Regions from separate parts of the Homo sapiens genome. Here region 2 is linked to region 1. The links are contacts of gene promoters, found by promoter capture Hi-C in blood cells and fetal thymus (Javierre and others, 2016). All regions are on one chromosome and are shown on one strand. The core of a region is centred on a gene start or on the middle of the fragment in contact, and the rest is flanking DNA. Distances in the headings are between cores, read along the strand shown.

Region 1 (2,700 bases), core at 194-2,693:
GGGTGTGCCCAAGAACCATCCTCTTCTGAGACTGGCACCGCAAGGATCCCAAGTCTCCACTGACATGTGTCACTTTGCCCTCTACTCGCACCCCATTGCTGTCAGAGGCACAGATGGCTTTCCTGTTCCCAGCGCCTCCCAGCTTTCCATCTGATTCAGCTTGGCTGAGCTACAATTCAGTTTCTGTGGACCCCAAGTTCTGCCTCACCTAAGAAACCTTTTAAATCCATCCTTCCTTTCTCCCTCCCAGAGATCCTGTTTCCCACCTTTCTGCTCCTCCCTTCATCCTCCCCAAATCTAACCAAAAACAACATTACCAGCCCCCGCCAGCATGCACTGAGAGCGAACTTTGTTAGCTCTCCTCCCCCAGGAACCGTGCCCAGGGGTGGAAAGCGCTGCCATCCTATCCTTACAAGGACTCCACGAGGGAGGCACAAATAAGGCGCTGGGACTCAGTTTGTTGAGTGACTCGCTAGGGCTGGGTGTGGTGGCTCACGCCTGTAATCCCAGCACTTTGGGAGGCTGAGGCAGGTGGATCACCTGAGGTCAGGAGTTTGAGACCAGCCTGGCTAACATGGTGGAACCCCGTCCCTACCAAAAAATACAGAAATTAGCCAGGTGTGGTGGTGGGCACTTATAATCCCAGCTACTCGGGAGGTTGAGGTAGGAGAATCGCTTGAACCCAGGAGGCAGAAGTTGCAGTGAGCCCAGACTGCACCACTGCCCTCCAACCTGGGCGACAGAGTGAGACCTTGTCTCAAAAAAAAGATAAAAAAGTGACTTGTCGGAAGTCACACGATAAGGAGGTGGGCCGAGGATCGGAACCCAGCCCTGCCCTGCTGGAAACTCTTCAAGGCCTGAACAGTCCTCGGTACCACATTCCTTTCCCCAGCTTCAAGGCCCTCCTGGAACTGTCCCCCAGCCTGCCGCGTGACCTTGGGCAGATGATGTGACCTGACCTCCGTCTTCTCACCTATGAAGTGGGTTGGGGGCGGTTGGTCTTGGGAATTAGGGGAGCCCGTACATGCCAAGGGCACCCCAGAGCCCGGCACTTAGCCGGCGCTCATAAGAGCTCATCCCACGACCTGTGAACCCCCTAACAGGCCCACTCCTTTGGATCACTGACTGCAGTTCCAGGGACCCAACCCAGCACCTTCCCCACCTTCCCAGTGATCTCCGACCCTAACTAGGCCGGTGGCGCAGAGCGGGCGGCGCATGCGCCCTGAGAGCCGGCTCCCCGCTGCACCTGAAGGACACGGAGGCCGCGGATCCTGAGTGAGCCGAGGGGAAGCCCAGGCGCAGAGCTGGCGGCGCCAACGGGGACACCACACTCGCCCCCGACGCCACGCTGCCCAAGCCCGACTTTCACGGCCAAAACGTGAACACCCACCTTGAAGCGCCGCCGCTACTTGCCTTGCCAAGCAGGCCAGTCAATCGGGAGGCGGAGGCTACACTGTAGGACGCTGCCATTGGGCCAGCGGGTTCCCCCTTTTCTGTATTGATGCTTCATGGTGTGGTCTGATTGGCCAGCAAGGCTGCTGAAAGAGGCGGGATTCAGAAATATCTTTCTTTTGATTGGCTAGGAGAGACCGGCGCTTGAAGTTTGTAGGGGGCCGCCATGTTGGTTTGGGGAGGCCAATAAGTGAAGACCTCCGAGCCGCTGGAGGCGGGACATCCGGGGCGTGGTTTAGAAAGAGTGCTTTCGCCGTGGGTGCAGAGGGTGGGCCCGCCGGGTTGGGTGGGGGGCGTGTGATGACGGTAATGGCGACGAGATGCTCAACTCACGCGGCCTCTTTTAATCCTCACAGCAGCTCTGCGTGGAGAAACTACAGTAACGTGTTACCACGTTAAGGCGGGAAGCTGAGGCATGGGAGTATTTAGTAACGTTCCCGGGCCGTAGAGCTGCGGTGTGCGGCCGCCTGATCCACCTGATCTGTATGACTCCCGTACTCAACCAGCCTATGTTTCCTACCAGCGAATTTTTTTTTTTTTTTTTTTTTTTTTCTTTTTTTGAGACAATCTGGCTCTGTGGCTCAGGCTGGAATGCAGTGGTGCGATCTCGGCTCACTGCAGCCTCGACCTCCCAGGCTCGGGTGATCCTCACTTCTCAGCCTCCCGAGCAGCTGGAACCACAGTCGCCTGCCACCACCAGGCTCGGCTAATTTTTGTATTTTTTGTAGAGACGGGGTCTCGCCATGTTGCCCAGGCTGGTCTGGAACTCCTGGACTCAGGCGATCCTCCTGCCTCGGCCTGCCAAAGTGCTGGGATTACAGGCGTGAGCCACCACGCCGGGCCTTTCCCCGGGAATGCTGTGGTAGAGGGACCCGCAGAGGCCCCGAGGCTGCCTGCATGTGTGTGTTGGGAGGATCTGCGCTGAGGGTAGGTAGGAGTTGGGCAGGCCAGGACAGGAAGGAGGCAGAGGGCATGTCCCATGCCCGTGCAGAGGGAGGACACGCATGGTAGACCAGGACGAGGACAAGGGCAGGCTCAGTGTGTGCAAAGGGGACAGTGGTTTGGGATTTGCATGCAGATGCCCGAGCCTCCAAAGGACCTGTGGGCCACAGGGAGACCCTGGGGGAGTTCAAGCTGAGGAGTGGAGAGGGCTTTGGGCTGGTCAGCAGGTGCTCAGAGGAGAGGGGCTGGCCCTAGAGAGAAGGGAGGTCTTGGGATGGTGGCCCACACCTGACCCTGGCCCTTCAT
Region 2 (3,282 bases), core at 250-2,749, 910 kb after region 1:
TTAAATGACCCCAAAACAATTTCCCATACCCCTCCTGTAAGGCCGTGCACAATCGTCGCCTTCCTTTCTAGACTCCCCGGATCTTATCATTCCCAAATCTACCCTCCACCCCAACACAAGATGTGCACAACTCTGAAACAAATTTCAGAGGTGCAAATCAAGGACCAAAATTCCATCTGATCTTTTTGGATAAAGTAATAAAATAAACGATTGCATCTAAGGATACAAGGAAAATACATCTTGTCCAAAAATTAAATAAAAGACCGGCCGGCGCGACGGTCAATCCGTAATACCAAGAAAGGGTTTTCTTTTTTCTAAATATTCTCGTGGATAATGGCTTCCATTGAGAACACAGGTTCCCCCCGTTTTTGTCACTACATTACAGCCACGTTAACAGCATCCTTTCAAAACTGCTACGAGACCAGAGGACCCGATGACACAGTTTGCAGAGCAGTTAGAGGCAGAGCCCTCCCGGAGGAAGCCCTGGCCCGAAGTCGGGAGGGAAACCGTGCTTGCACCCCCTGGGCGACGACCGCCTGGGCATGGAGCAGCCAGGGCCGGAGAGGAAAAAGGGCGAATCTCGCTGGGCTCCCCCAGGAAAAGGCGTTTCAATGGTTCACCCATCGGAAAAAGAGATAGAAACTTTGCATTCAGTCTTTGGATAACACAGTCAACCAAACTTCCAAATGAGGGGGGGGAGGGGGAAACTCACCGGAGATTCTGCTCTTGAGTTCTTGTCCAAGTGAGAAGTAAAAGATTCCAAAGCTGAGAGGAATAATTAAATCCCAAACGTCGTCTTCGGTTTTTCCGTGGATCAACCCAGTATCCAGAGAGGGTCAGAGCGACCAGGAAAAGGGAGCAAACAGTTGCTGAATCAAACCTTCTCTTCTGGCTTTGGAGACCGGGAGTCGGAGGCGTCAGGAGAGAGGAGCGCGACCCCTCGGCGCCGAGCCCGGGGCGCCCCCGCCTCCCCCAGGCCAGCGGTCAGCAGCCCGGGCCCGAGCCCCGGGCCGGCCCCGGCCGCAGGGAGCGCCCTCCTCGCCGTGCCCTCGGCCAGCAGGGGCTGGTCGCCTGCGGGAGCAGCGGCCGATCAGCTGAGACCGGCCGGCCCGAGGCTCCCCGCGCCGCCCCGGCCCCCCGGAACGCGGGCCCCGGCCCCGGGGGGCGGACAGGGCGGGAGCGGCGCGGCGCGCCGGGATGGGGGCCCTGGCTCCCCTCGCGTCTCCCCCTCAGGTCTGGCTCCGCGCTGCGGGACGAGCCCCCCGGCTACTCCCCAGTCGCAGAAGAGGGATTCCGGGGGATGGGCCCCCTGGCGTTGCCCCTCCTCCCGGAGCGTCCCCTGCCCAGGAAAGACAGAGCGGCCACGGGCCCAGCCGCTGGGAAGGTGCTCCGAGAGCCGCCGCCGCCGCCGCCGCTGCCGGGGAGGGGTGTTGTTTCCCTCACACAGGAGGAGCCGCTGAAGCAGCCGCCGCCATTTTGAACCCGTCAGACTCTCACATACACACAGCTCCTCCGAGGCGCACTGCGCAGGCGCCACCTCCCCACCCCTCCTCCAGCTCGCCTCTCCACCCCCCCACCCCCTTCAGGCCTCCCTGCGCTTCTTACCGCTCTCCCGGGCGCGCGTGAACGCGCACGCGTCACTCCCCTCTAACGCGGACACACCGCCGGCGCGCGCACGCGCGGATGCGTCGGCCTCGAATCGCCCGCGCCCCGCGACGCCGACGCGGCTCCCTGCGCCCCCTCGCGTCAGGCCGCCCGCCCTCCCTCCCTCCCGCCAGCCCGCCGCCCCCGCTCCCCGTCGGCGTTCTTCCAGGGCTCGGGCCTGGCTGGCTGCTCGCGCCTGCGCGCAGGGCACCGATCCTCCTCCGCGCGCCCTCCCCCCACACACCCTCACACACACTTCGCCTCTGCGACCCCGCCCCTCGCGGCCAGCTGTGCTGGCCGCCCTCCCCCACCCCCCTGGGAGGGTGGTGACCCCCGACCCCCCACAAAGCACATCACCCCCCCCAAGCAGTGGGAGATCTGCGTCCCCTTCCCCTTCAACCGCCTTTGGCCCCAGGCTGCCCGTCACAGTCACACAACCTGAGGGCCGGGAGGCCTGGGCCAGGGCAACCGATACCCGCCTCAAAGCAGGGTCTCCCGGGGTCAAGCCGCCGGGCTGGGCCCGCGGGACCTGGGCTCCCGGCTCAGGCCTGCCCAGGGCGAGAGGGCGCAGGGAAGGGGCGCATGGCCGCCGGCTGCCCTCCCTTCGCGTGCCGGCCGGTGGGCCGAGGCCGGCTTGCCCGCCATTCCCGGGCAGGCCCCGGCGCCGCCGCCACGGGGCCCGTCTGCCCTGGGCCCGGGGGCTCCTCGGTGCAGCGGCCTGGCCCCGCCTCACCCACTGCTCGTCGCTCCGAAGGGGCAGGAAACAGGAGTAGCATGTCTGTCCTGGGCTCGGCTCCCCGGGGGTGCTGCAGGCGCTTAACAAGGGCGTCCACAGGTACCAGGCGCAGAAGCGGTCTCCGCGACGGCCCGGGGGCGGTGGCGGCCGGCGCGCCCACCGCCGGCCGGAGGCGCCCGGCGAGGTGGCCCAGGAAGCCCCCGCTCCTCGGCCACGCTCAGCTTTCCGCCGCGCCGGTGCCCCCGGCGGCCCGGGTGGGACGTGACCCCGCCCCCGGCGAGTCGGGGCGCCCCCCACGGAGGGGTGCGCGGGCCGCCCCCGGCCCCCGGCCCGACCCTGCCGCCCTGGGCCGTGGCGGGCGCGGGAGGCCCGGCCGGGAAGATGTCTCCTGTTGGTGCGCGCAGCTTCGCGCGGGGGTCAGCGACGGGGCAGCAGCCGCCCGAGCTGCGCCGGCCCTGCCCACGGACCGACTCCCGCGGCCCGACAGCTGCCCGACGGGCCAGCAGGCTCCGAACGTCGACGGAGCCCGGCCGGAGGTACCCGAGCAGTGCCATGCGAGCAGCCCAGCCGCGATCCGGGCATTTCCCCAGCCAATCTCTTGCTCTGGGGCCCGTTTAAATTCTAAATCCCACAAAGGACGGTGGCTGGGGCGTTACACATCGGGGTTGGCACTATTGGCTCCACTACGCCCTTGCTGAGCGGTGTCACACAAATCTTTTTCTCCCTGCCTTGGTTTCCCACTCTTTAAGCTCTGACTCCTGGAAGCAGGGAATGGAGCAGAGAGGTAGGGCATGGAGTGAATCATATAACCTGCATAAACAGCCATCAACTCTTTCAGGAGGACGTTAGCGAGACAATTAAAATAATGATACCTTCTAATTCTATCAAGGCTTGAACTCCAA

Evidence for each region. Contacts are between HindIII fragments. The CHiCAGO score rates a contact against its expected background, and 5 or more counts as called.
Region 2: the fragment with the promoter of KDM2A here is called in contact with the fragment with the promoter of NDUFS8 in region 1 in 1 of 17 cell types (neutrophils); the score reaches 10.2 in neutrophils.

What each region holds. Positions count from the first base shown.
Region 1 is chr11:68,029,424-68,032,123 of GRCh38, reverse strand. It overlaps NDUFS8 (NADH:ubiquinone oxidoreductase core subunit S8), which reads right to left and starts at 1,443. Exons shown (of 7, transcript NM_002496.4): 1 at 1,391-1,443. GLTC1 (glycolysis associated regulator of LDHA post-transcriptional modification 1) reads left to right here and starts at 1,690. Exons shown (of 4, transcript NR_197583.1): 1 at 1,690-1,831. RefSeq lists enhancers at 1,237-1,416, 1,408-1,702. The HindIII fragment of the contact is 7,666 bases long and covers 1-2,700 here.
Region 2 is chr11:67,117,480-67,120,761 of GRCh38, reverse strand. It overlaps KDM2A (lysine demethylase 2A), which reads right to left and starts at 1,499. Exons shown (of 21, transcript NM_012308.3): 1 at 713-1,499. It overlaps LOC107984341 (a long non-coding RNA gene), which reads left to right and starts at 2,414. Exons shown (of 2, transcript NR_160735.1): 1 at 2,414-3,282. RefSeq lists silencers at 358-447, 973-1,112, 1,293-1,362, 1,503-1,942, 2,123-2,402 and 2 more and an enhancer at 2,013-2,062. The HindIII fragment of the contact is 9,806 bases long and covers 1-3,282 here.